Regions from separate parts of the Homo sapiens genome. Here region 1 is linked to region 2. The links are contacts of gene promoters, found by promoter capture Hi-C in blood cells and fetal thymus (Javierre and others, 2016). All regions are on one chromosome and are shown on one strand. Each heading gives the region's core, a stretch centred on a gene start or on the middle of the fragment in contact. The rest is flanking DNA. Distances are from core to core; before and after follow the strand shown. Region 1 holds the start of TFB1M (transcription factor B1, mitochondrial). Region 2 holds the start of LINC02901 (long intergenic non-protein coding RNA 2901).

The links. The method cuts DNA at HindIII sites, captures the fragments that hold promoters and counts their contacts. A CHiCAGO score of 5 or more calls a contact.
Region 1: the fragment with the promoter of TFB1M here is called in contact with the fragment with the promoter of LINC02901 in region 2 in 2 of 17 cell types (fetal thymus and monocytes); the score reaches 6.0 in fetal thymus.

What each region holds. Positions count from the first base shown.
Region 1 is chr6:155,309,982-155,316,670 of GRCh38, forward strand. TFB1M (transcription factor B1, mitochondrial) reads right to left here and starts at 4,503. Exons shown (of 7, transcript NM_016020.4): 1 at 4,315-4,503; 2 at 1,207-1,358. The coding sequence starts at 4,447. RefSeq lists enhancers at 4,278-4,597, 4,596-5,586, 4,668-4,717, 5,268-5,317 and a silencer at 4,768-4,847. The HindIII fragment of the contact is 4,007 bases long and covers 1,958-5,964 here.
Region 2 is chr6:158,867,371-158,873,432 of GRCh38, forward strand. It overlaps LINC02901 (long intergenic non-protein coding RNA 2901), which reads left to right and starts at 2,444. Exons shown (of 3, transcript NR_160980.1): 1 at 2,444-2,607. RefSeq lists enhancers at 1,418-2,090, 2,091-2,763, 2,664-2,833, 2,764-3,437 and a silencer at 2,264-2,583. The HindIII fragment of the contact is 6,622 bases long and covers 1,020-6,062 here.

The DNA.
Region 1 (6,689 bases), core at 3,253-5,752, 3.6 Mb before region 2:
TAATTTTTTAAAGCATAAAAACTAGATAAAGCAAGATTAGGGAAAAACTGCTAGGTTTCTTAAAAAAATCAGATACATGCACACAAAGTTCTAGGTTTTCAAAAACAACTTCTCAAACCGTTCTGACAGAAATTAACATTTTTCCATTAATATATATACAAGTTAGTATGAGAATATACTCGTTTAAAATCAATTTGTCCTTTTGTATGGAAGTAATAACGTAGATAACTACATTATTCTATTATAGTCACATGATAAATTGCTTCTCATCTGAGCCAAAGGTTCAGGACTCTTTTAAAATTTTAGAATTATGGAGGAATCAAAGGCCTTTAAGACATTAAGTGTTCCCCTATGAGGAAATCCCTTTACAAGATCCCTGATACAATCTATTTCACTGTTTGCCAGCGTTTTAAAAAAAGTAAGTTCCTCCTTATTTCAAATCCTCAATCCTGCCTCCCTCAATTTCCATCTATTTGTTTTAGCTCTTTCTTAGAAAAGATCAAAACAAGCTTATCCTATGTACCCCCAACCTTGGATGTGCTGCTATATACACTCTTACCCAGGGCCTCTTTTCTCCAGTTGAAACATGCCCAGTTCCTTCAACTCTCATTTCTTATACAATAACAGTGCCTGTATTTTAAAGATGCATGTATCATTTCATTTAAACCTCATCCTAAATCTATAAAAGTACAACTTCCTTCCTTCACTTAAAAAATTTACCTTATAAAAGAATGCTTAAGCTTCATAATTAGTCTCTCATGATGACAAACGTGCATATGTCTTACTCATCTTTTGTTTGTGGAAATGCTTTTTGAACCTAAATGAAGTTCTCAAAAGTCATACCAATGAGTCATTACTGGCCATTATTTATTTTTATTTATTTTTGAAGGAATGGGCCACGACATGCATAGCTATTAGCAGACTTAAAAAAAAAAATCACACAAAACAATTAATTTGTTTAGCATAAATGCTTAAAGCAGGTTTTTTTCAAGGTGTAGTCAATAGACCCTCTGAGAGTGCTTGTTAAAAATGGAGATTTCCAGATTTCTCCAGACTATGGAATCAAAATCTCTGGAATGGGGCCTTGGGGATCTATAGTTGAGGAAAAACCTACATAATCTTTGGATACCTTGGGGTTTAAGCATCATGGCATAAAGATTTAAATTCAGCTTTTGCCTCCTAAAGCAGACACTTTAAGCATCTCACCTGTAATCCAGGAATAAATCGAGTGTCCTTTTCAACCACCAGAAGTTCAGCGACGTCGGCATTAAGAATAGATCTTGTGATTCCCCCTGGCCCAGGGCCCACTTCGTAAACATAAGCATTTGTCAGATTGCCAGCTTTCCTTACAATCTTATCTAGAGGAAAAAGAGTTTTAGTTATCTCAATTAACTTGGCAAATTTCAACGTATGAAATTTAGAGAGAAAAATCTTCTATAAAAATTCAGCCATTACCCAATCAATTGATCCTTTATGTATAATATTTATTTGACTATTTAACTCTCTACCTAAATTAACATGAAGTGGCAATCGAATATGCTACCACATCACCATTGAACTGTACCAGTCCCTTAACACACACAGGATTATCATGACAAAGTTTCTTAGCTTAAATTTAGCTAATATTGTAGTTTCCATCTGTCCCATGCAAATTCCTTTCAAACTGATTTGAAACCAACCGACTCCTAAGAACAGACTGGATAAGAATGCAGCACTTTTCTATAGTTATTGAACATTGAATATCTGAATAAGCAATACTAGTTTCACATTCAGAATCTTCAGTATTGCTAGTGAAATCCAAAAGCAAAAAGTGCTGAAGTCTTATTTTTATCTAGAGACATCTTGGTGGTGGTCACTATGGCAATGGCAATAAGTTCTTAGATCGTAAGATTTTCAGAAATTTGAATTCTTAGTCATTTTCAGGAAAAAGTTAAATTGAGCAGTTGAGGGTTTTTAAAGCTTTGCACACATGCATGTTAATACAGAAAAATTAATTTTTTAATTAATCAAATTCAAGTTAGCAGCCCTTAAGACATCATAAAAAGGTAGAGTACTGACTCTGTGCAACCAGTCATCACATCTGGAAAAACATGCAATGGGCTGGTCTTAGTGATTCTGAGATATGGAAATCCAAGGAACTGGTCTTCCTAGGATAGTGGAAATTTAGTCACTAAAAACATACCAGCACTTCTTGTAGGTGTTCACAGTCCTATTTTTGCTTGTTTTCAACAACATAACTTTGTCAGCTAAAATGCGGAAACTAGTTTCTCAGCCATCCAAAAATGGTTTAGTCTTTTAACAGGGAGGGAATTAGCATCCACTGACCATCTTATCTATTATGATGGATTTACACACATTCTCACCTAATCCTTACATGTTAACCAAGGACTCCTATCCCAATTTCATTTCTCTTAACTTTTCAGTTTCCTTGTCTATTGTTTTATTTGTACAAGGTCATGGACTTCAACATAGGTATAAATCCTAAAGCCAATGCCTCTCAGAGGGAACAGGAATGATACATTATGGAATAAATTTAATACTCTCCTTCTTTAAAATGGAGAGCTACAACAGTAGGCAGGTCTCTGCTCTCAAACTTTTCAGGCACATTGAAATACAAATGAATATTAAAGAAGCGCTATCAAATCAATGAGCTTGGATTTCAATCTTGCTCTCTTCTGCCTGAGCTTCTAACCTCAGCTAAGTACCCTCATCTCCGTTAACTCTGGTTCCCATAGAAAGAGTGGATAATATCTAGAATTTGAAACTTACTCCTGAAGATAAAGGCTCATGAGAAAATGTATTTGAAGGATTTTAAAAAATACACAGACCTATAACTTCTGCCCTGAGAATGGTGATTTATATTTAGAATGTGGCTAATAACAAGCAGAAAAGGCTGGTACTAGCTATTACTAGAACCAAAGAATTTTAGAGTGGGCAATCTTTTAAAGTAGTAGGCCCTTCTTCCAATTAAAAGATGAGGAAACTACTGGACATGGTGGCTCACACCTGTAATCCCAACACTTTGGAAGGCCGAGGCGAGTGGATCACTTGAGATCAGGAGTTTGAGACCAGCCTGAGCAACATAGTGAAACCCTGTCTTTACTAAAAACACAAAATTAGCTAGGCACGGTGGCTCACGCCTGTAATCCTAGCTACCTGGGAGGCTGAGGCACGAGAATCACTTGAACCGGGGAGGCGGAGGTTGCAGTGAGCTGAGATCATGCCATTGCACTCCAGCTTGGGCAACAAGAGTGAAACTCCATCTTAAAAAAAGAAAAAAAAAAAAAAGAGAAAACTTGAGTTAAATTATTTTATCCAAAGTCATATTGGTACAGGCAGAATAAAGACTACATGTCCAAGAAATAAAACATTTTATGTTTTCTGGAGTGTGCTTCATTTAAGTGAAAATGAACTTTTTGGGTGTGATTTACTGCTCTTTTCAACTTCTGAAGTGGGACTAAATAGAATGAAATATGAAAATCTCAAAACCTAAGTACTCCAGCCGTGACTTAGTAGACGTATTTGTAATATATTTTTGCAACCTCATCTCATAGAACATCACTAAGCAATGGTGATGGTGGTTAAACCAATATATAAATACATTCGTCAAAACTCATCAAATTGAGCACTTCAAACTTATTAATTTTATTGCACATAAATTATATCTCATAAAAAGTAACTTTAAACAATTAGGTGTGGGAATGTAAACTTGCTAAAAGTAAGCTCCTCGAGGAAACACCGCCTTGTTCACGCCCATATCCTACCCCCGGCACTAGCACAATGTTGCTTGTGTAATATGTACTTATGAATGAATATTAGCGCCCCCGAGGCTTAGACTGAACAGGTAAACGTTTAAAAAACGAATCATACGAGGGATACTCTTTTCACCAAGTTATTGATAAAATCCTCGCATCAATTTAAATTCTGGTAACTTTAAACTGCATGTAAAGCAACTGCAGTCAGCATGTGCTGTACTATTTCAGAATGATTGATTTCACAGTGACCCAGATTCCAATATTCACTAGCGCCTTTCACGACCCATGAACCCTTCCTCCCCTAGGGAGCTTGGCATTTATGCAGCCTGCCGGCAGGCTACACCCCCCCGAACGCGGAGTTTTGTGAGCAATCAACGCACTTCACGTGTCTCCTGGGCGGTGGGACCGGAGTTCTGATACAAAGAGGTCGAAGGACCTGACCAAAAGCCCGTCGCACGCCAGTGCCTGGACACCCGCCCGCGGGGACGTGCAAGACCCCCCGGCCCACGCCCCCACGGACACTGGGGAGACATCCGGGGAGCACTGCTAAGCCATCCACCTGTCAGCCTCAAGTCCAGGAGGAAATTCTGTGATAGCTGCTTCGCTGCTTGCAGTCTTAACAACTTAATGATTTCTCGAATCGTGGGCAACGGAGGGAGACGGCAAGTGCTGAGTTTTCCGGAGGCAGCCATGATACGCGGCAAGCACCATCCAACCCTACCTCACCCAGGACCTTCACCGCCGCTCCGAAAGAAACGCGCAGGGGAGGAACCTGCGAGACCTAAGGCCCGCCTCGGAGTCAGCCCCATTGGTCAGACCTATCCCACCGGAAGCGATGACCGCGGACAGGAAATTCCCGGCGTGCTGAGAGCGCATGCGCTAAGTCCTGCCGCGAGAAGGGCAGGCTGGGTGGTCGGCGGCTTCCGCCTGTGAGAGCCGGGGGAGAGCCGGGTGGACTAGGCTTCTCCTGGGCGGGCTATGGGGAGAGCGCCCAGGAGGGCGGGACGAGGCGGGGCCTGGACAGGGTGGGGTTTTTCGGAGGAGTTGCTCTGAGAGGTGCAGCCGGTTTACTCCCGCCCTGAAGTTCCCAAGGGCTTCCGGCTCTTTAACGTTCTAAATACCTGTCTGTGAATATTAGAGGAAAAGCGGGTGCTTAGAGGCAAAGCTACTGTTTGTTAGCAATTCTTTCTTACTGTGAGGCGTTTTTAGAACCGCCGCTCTGCAGATGCTGCATGATGGGTTTTTAACTTCGTTCAGCCTCAGTTTTTTCATCAGTTAAATGGAGCTAATGTCTACCTCAAAATTGTGAGCACTAAATGAGAGAGATCGCCTGGTGTGCACGTTCAGAACATAGTGCACGCATGGCATTGGGTAAGCTCCCACGTGATCAGTGGTGGCTGTTATTATTTGGCAGATGAATAATTGGCCAGTGTAAAGAGGTCATTCGATTTGCTAGGATTACAGCTAAGAACAGAGAGAAGACTGAAATATGAGTTCTGTCTTTCCGTTATACGAGATAAAAACAACGAAGCAAAAAAAAAAAAAAATTAAAGTTTCTCTGATAGGTGGGAGAATTTTGCTGTTTTAACCCTGCTTATGTTTGGACATTGCTGCGTTGATCACAAATGAATTTTAAAGTTTCTGTTCCTCAATTAGTAAGTTTTTAAAAAAGCTAATGGAAAACGAAACAACTATGGGTATGGATATAAAAATGAGGAGTACTTTGAAATTCCAGTGGAAAACTCAACCACCTTCTATAAAAGCTGTTTTAAAAGGAACTGAGATAATCTCCTAGCTTTAAAAAATAGTGATGACTACCATAGAGGTAAGGAGATTTGCCCAACGTGGCATCAAAATGTAGACTGGAAGTACAAACTCTTGATTCAGATATCTTATCGTCCAAAACACAGTATACCTGACAAAGCATTATTTCACAGTTATATTCATTATTTCCCGTACTCCTCACAATGGTCCCATGTGAATGAGATTATTATTCTTAGTTTGCTGTGAAGAAATAGGGGAGGTGAGGTCATTTGACAATGCCCAGAGTCAGACAGCAAAGTACAGAGAGAAGACAACCTGAGTTGTGTTTTTTCTGAGTTCTGATCTCACTGGCCACACTCAAGTATCAGCTTATTATTTTTAAGTTAATATGTGTTAATTTTGTAACATCTAAATATATAGAAATACGAATCTAGGTGTAAACATAAGCTTACAGTTTTCATATGACTATTTAAAACAATTGCAATAAATATATACAAAACCAATACAAATGGTCTTATTAATTGACAAGGATGAACACTGTTAAATCACGACACTTAGTGCTAACTGGCAGGTTTTCTTTTTTTTTTTTTTTTAAGTTTCAGCCTACCAGTGATCCAGTGTGCCATGTAATGACTGAATGTTCTCATTAGTTTTCTGGAGTCAAACTATTACCAAATCTTTGTTCAATTTTTTTTCCATTGTCGCTTGTCTTTCTTTTGGAAGAATATGGAAGCTACATATTAAGTCTGCCTGCATCTGTTTTCAGTAGCTTGGAAACAAGTGAATTTGAATTATTTGGCACTAATGCTACCATGAACACACACGTTGTGTAACAGGTATAAAGAGGATGTTCAGATGACCCCAAATATAATCACATGAGCTTTTTAAAAGATTAACATCAACATAAAAACAAACTAAAATCTAAATGAGTGAAACACCTTTGCGTGGAGAATTTGTAGATTCCTGATAATTTGTCCCCAGATCTAAATATGAATTTATGGATGGTTTATACCATGCCATCTTCAATAACTGAACCTATTTATAAAGCAGCTTCCTTTGTTACTTAATTCTCATTTCAATTCTGTGATGTAGGTTCACAAAGATGTGTCTTAGTTCATTCCTGCTGCTATAACAAAATATCTGAGACTGGGTAATTTATAAAGAACAGAA
Region 2 (6,062 bases), core at 1,194-3,693:
AGTTTGAAAGTCATTCTTATGATCGGTTTGCTTCCTGGTTCCTAACCAACCAAGTGGATCTAAGTGAGGCCACTTTGTAAACAGGTCGTTCTCCAAATTGATGAACACAGCAGAATCTGAGACATTTTCAGAAACTTTGTACTGCAGATTTAATATGGTCTGTTGCTCAGGGGAAGCGGAGATTGTTGAGACTGTAGGCACCCTTATTTTCCCTCTCACATAGCAATCTTTTTTTTTTTCTTAAGACAAGGTCTCGCTCTGTCACCCAGGATGGAGTGCTGCGGTGTGATCACAGCTCACTGCAGCCTGAACCTCCTGGGCTAAAGTGATCTTTCCACCTCAGCCTCCCAAATAGTGGGGATTACAGGTGTGAGCAACCACGCCCCACAGTAGCAATCCTTTTCTTAAACCAGCAGCAGGACAAATGTCTTCCTGAAGATTTGTAACACCTGGTAGTGATCCCAACTCCTTCTGGGCCCGCTTAAGACTAAGTTTCTGGTTAGGAAAGAAGAAACTGCAGAGCTTAGTAGTTAAGGGCACACAGGAGTCAGACAACCTTGGGTGTGAATCCCGGCACTGCCATGGTACTAATGTGTTGCATGAGTCATGTTGAGAGGTGAGGCCAGCTGGACTTCCTGGGTCCAGTGGGGACTTGGGGAACTTTCCTGTCTTACAAGAGGATTGTAAAACGCACCAATCAGCAGGATTCTAAAAGTAGCCAGTCACGGGAAGGATTGAAAAAGAGGGCACTCTGATAGGATAGAAATGGAACATGGGTGGGGACAATAAGGGAATAAAAGCTGGCCACCCCAGCCAGCAGCGGCATCCCACTTGGGTCCTCCTCCATGCTGTGGAAGCTTTTTCGCTCTTCACAATAAACCTTGCTACTGCTCACTCTTTGGGTCCCGGCCATCTTTAAGAGCTGTAACACTCACCGCGAAGGTCTGTGGCTTCATTCTTGAAGTCACTGAGACCACGAACCCACTGGCAGGAACCAAGTCCAGACACAATGTTATGCAAGCTTTCTAGACCCTTTCTGTAAAATGGGTATAATAATAGTATCTAAGTCATGGGGATTTTGTGAGGATTAAATGAAATGCCTGTTAAGCATTTAAAATGCCTGGCACATTGAAAGTTCTTTTTGGAGACAAGTCTTGCTCTGCCGCCCAGGCTGGAGTGCAGTGACATGATCTCTGCTCACTGCAGCCTCTGCCTCCTGGGTTCAAGCAATTCGGTGCCTCAGCCCTGAGTAGCTGGGATTACAGGCATGCGCCAACACGCCCACCCAATTTTTGTATTTTTAGTAGAGATGGGGTTTCACCATGTTGGCCAGGGTGGTCTGGAACTCCTGACCTCAGGTTATCCTCCTGCCTCGACCTCCCAAAGTGCTAGGATTACAGGTGTGAACCACTGCCTTTGGGCCAAAAGTACTTAATTCTTATTGATGTCCACATTCAACAATTACTAGGTTTGTTTTTTCTGCATCCAGCTGCAAATGATCTTCAAAGTTGTGAACTCAGGAAATCTCAGAGGCGTTTATAGGCTTTCCAACCAGAGATGATATTTGTAATTCAAAGAAGTAAATAGAAATCCTTAAGAGAACCCCTTTCAAGCTAAGTTCCCATCTAATATGGAGTGGTGGCTTCGAATGATCCTTTTGGCTTATCTTTTTAAGTGTAAGAATTTTTGATGAATCACACTTCGTACCTATTTGGTCACTTTCACCAAAGTACAAAACCAGTCTGCCACCAGAAGAAATTTAATAACCTTGAGACTCAGAGAAGCAATGCTGCCTGATTGGTGGACAGCCAGACCAGTGAGGGTCAGACGTGGCTCTTCGGCTCCGGACACGGGAATGTGGTGGAAATGAGATCCTCCAGCGATTCTAAGGAGTGTTTTGTTCTTCTGGCTTAAGAGAAGGGCAGAGGACAGAACCAAGGGGAAAGAGAGACAGGCCCAGCCATTGTCTGACGTGAGGCACGATAACACATTAGAGGGCTGGTTTAGCAAAGGGCAAGGTAGAGTTGGCATTAGACGCGCTTGCAAAGGGAGGCGGGCAAGAGCTTCAAGACGCGAATGACACTTGAGCAGCCTGGGCTCACGTCTGGTAAGGTTTACGCCGCCTGTTCCCGCCATCTGGCAACTCCCTCCCAGAAGGGTGAGTTTGGTTCTTGGCAAATCCCCTTCGGACACACAAGCTCTTTTATTAAAATATAACCCCACTAACAGATTGCAGACTAGGCACAGAAGCCCCAAAGCACCCCCAGAGACCGCAGCAGTCCCGCCCCGCCGCCCCCGGATCCGCGCGGCTGCCAGAAGCTCCCCTCCCCCAGATCTTGGCCCCTCCCTGAGGCGCGCGAGCGTGTCGTCGCCCGCTCCCGGCCAATCAGGGCGCGCGACCAAAATAGCGCCATATAAAAGCTGGATGGCGGGCGCGGCCGGTGCAGAGCCTCGCGCTGGGGTGGGGTTGCGCGCGCAGGTGAGGGGGGCGGGGCCGGCGCGACCGGCGGGGCGGGGCGGACACTCCCACCGCGCACCTGCTTCTGCCTGACGTGTACCCGGAAGGTCGTCAGCTCAGGCTCCAAATATGTAACAGTGAGTTTCTAAGTGAGTCACACGGACGCGGTTGGTTTCCAGTGAGGCATAACTCATCGCTTCACTCTTCTCAACGGTTCCCTCTTCGGAAGGAAGCGCAGTCCGCAGCGTCGTCCGAGGGCGTGATCGCCTGCGTCGCACCCGCGTCTCCAGTGGCCACCCCTTGTCCTACAGGAACGCGCATCTGCTTAGCAGGCGCTGAGCCCTTGAGGAGGCCTAAAATGAATGAACGCGGCTGTGCCTCCTGAGCAGGCTCACAGTTGTGGGTGGGGGACAGAAGGGTGTCCATGCCTAAGGTCGACGGCGATAAGACAGACGTTCTTCCCAGGAGGAGATCAGTTCCAGGTGGGAGGCATTTCTAGGAGTCACCTTTCTCCGAGGAAGTGACCTGAGCTGTAGGAGGTGGAATCACAAAGGCTTTGGTGCCCTACACACCTGGGTTTTAGCCTCAGCTTGAGTCACTCACCCAGTCTGTGACGCTGAACACATCAGGAAACCTCAAACTTTCCCCATCTTTAAGATGCAGATAATAGCCGGTCACCATGGCGTGTGCTTGTAATGGCAGCTACTCGGGAGGCTGAGGCAGGAGGATCTCTTGAACCTGGGAGGTGGAGGTTGCAGTAAGCCGAGATCGTGCCACTCACTCCAGCCTGGGCAACAGAGCGAGACTCCATCTCAATAAATAAATAAATAACACTACATGACTGATAGCATATTTTTGAGGAGCATCTCTCCCCCTCCGTGCTTGGGTTTAATCCCCCCTTCCTCTCTCCCTCCCTCCCTTCCTCCCTTCTTTCTTCCTTCGTTACGTTTCTCTTCATTTCTTTTTTTCTCCATCATTCCTTCATTTTTCTTATTTTTTCCTAACTGATATAATTTACACACAATAAATCGCACAGAAATTAAGAGGACAGCTGGGTGAAGTTTTACATATGTATACACATGTCATTAGCCCCTAGGTCAAGATCTAGAACATTTCCATCACCCCAGGTTTCCAACTGCTCCTTCCGGTCAGTAGTACTTCCCCAGAGGTAACCACTATTCATTTGGACTTAAATTACCAAGTATGAGTTGTGTCTACTCTTAAACTTCATGTAATTGCAATCAAGCATTATGCTTTATTCCAAACTTGTCCAACCCGCACAGGCCACGGTTTTGAATGTGGCCCAACACAAATTTGTAAACTTTCTTAAAACATTGCGAGATTTTTTGTGACTTTATTTATTTATTTATTTTTTTGAGACAGAGTCTCTGTTGCCCAGGCTGGAGTGCAGTGGTGTGATCTCGGCTTACTGTAACCACCGCTTCCCAGGTTCAAGCGATTCTCATGCCTCAACCTCCCGAGTAGCTGAGATTACAGGCTGGTGCCACCACACCTGGCTAATTTTTGTATTTTTAGTAGAGATGGGGTTTCACCATATTGGGCAGGCCGGTCTCAAACTCCCGACCTCAGGTGATCTGACCACCTCGGCCTCCCAAAGTGCTGGGATTACAGGCATCAGCCACCGCGCCCCGCCATGTGATTTTTTTTTTTTTTTTTTAGCCCATCAGCTATTGTTAATTTTAGTGTATTTTATGTGTGGCCCAAGGCAATTCTTCCAGTGTGGCCCAGGGAAGCCAAAAGATTGGACACCTTTGCATTTCTGTTTTTTTTCACCCACCGTAGTGTCTGTAAGATTCCTCCATGTTATCACACGTATCAGTAGTTTGAAGTTTGTTTATTACTGAATAGTATTCTATTGCATGAATATACTTAAGTTAACTTATCCTTTTTACCATTGATGTGTATGTGGGTTGTTTTCAGTTTTTGGCTATTATGCATAAAGCTGCTCTGAACATTCATGTAGTATGATGAATAATTGATTTTAGTAGGATATATACCTATAAAAGGAATTTTTGTGTCATAGGATGATAGGTGTATATTTAGTTTTAGTAGACACTGCTGGCAGTTTCCCAAAAGGATTGAATCAATTTTTGAAAATTGGCTGGCCGCAGCAGCTCACGCCTGTAATCCCAGCACTTTGGGAGGCCGAGGCAGGTGGATCACGAGGTCAGGAGTTCGAGACCAGCCTGGCCAATATGGTGATTCTCCATCTCTACTAAAAAAAAAAAAAAAAAAAAAAAATTAGCTGGGCATGGTGGCGTACGCCTGTAGTCCCAGCTACTTGGGAGGCGTAGGCAGAAGACTCTCCTGAGCTCAGGAGGCAGAGGTTGCAGTGAGCTGGGATCATGCCAATGCACTCCAGCCTGGGTGACAGAGCGAGACTACATCTCAAAAAAAAAAAAAAAAAAAAAAAAAAGGACTGGTCGAGGTGGCTCACGCCTGTGATCCCAGCACTTTGGGAGTCCAAGGCAGACAGATCACCTGAGGTTGGAAGTTCGAGACCAGTCTGACCAACATGGAGAAACCGCGTCTCTACTAAAAATACAAAATTAGCTGGCCATGGTGGCGCATGCCTGTAATCCCAGCTAGCTACTCGGGAGGCTGGGGCAGGAGAATCGCTTGAACCTGGGAAGTGGAGGTTGCGGTAAGCCGAGATCATGCCATTGCACTCCATCCAGCCTGGGCAACAAGAGTGAAACTCCATCTCAAAAAAAAAAAAAAAGAAAAGAAGAAAAGAAAATTATAGTTACTTCACATCCTTGCCAACAATTGGTGTTAACAGTCTTAAATTTTTGATGGTTATGCAGCAGTATTTCCTAGTGGTTTTTTTTTTTTTTTTTTTTGAGACAGAATTCTGTCACCCAGGCTGGAGTGCAATGGCACGATATTGGCTCACTGCAACCTCTGCCTCCCGGGTTCAAGCAATTCTCCTGTCTCAGCCTCCTGAGAAGCTGGGATTACCGGCATGCGCCACCATACCCGGCTAATTTTTGTATTTTTAGTAGAGACGGGGTTTCACCGTGTTGGCAAAGCTGGTTTTGAACTCCTAACCTCAGGTGATCTGCTCACCTCGGCCTCCCAAAGTGCTGGGATTACAGACGTGAGCCACCGCACACGGCCAAAATCAGGTTGTTTTCTTACCATTGAATTTTGAGAGTTCTTTAAATATTCTGGATACAAGTTCTTTATTAAAAAGACTCCCTTCCATTGACTTTGCACCTGCCACTTTGTGAAACGTCAGTTGGCCATATTTGTGTGAATTTATTTCTGGACCATTTGTTCTGTTTCATTGATCTGTGTCTATCCCTTCACCAACACGACACTGTCTTGATTGCTGTAGCTTTAAAGTAAGTCTTAGCGCCCTCCAACTTTGTTCTTTTTCCTGATTACTTGGGTATTTTACTTCATTTGACTTTCCATATGTATTTTAGGCTTGTCTATATGTTTTAACAATCCTGCTGGGAATTTTGTTCTTTTTTTGTTTGTTTTGTTTTGTTTTTCAGACAGAGTCTCAGTCTGTAGCCCCGATGGAGTGCAGTGGTGCCATCATAGCTCACTGTAACCTCAAACTCCTGGGCTCAGG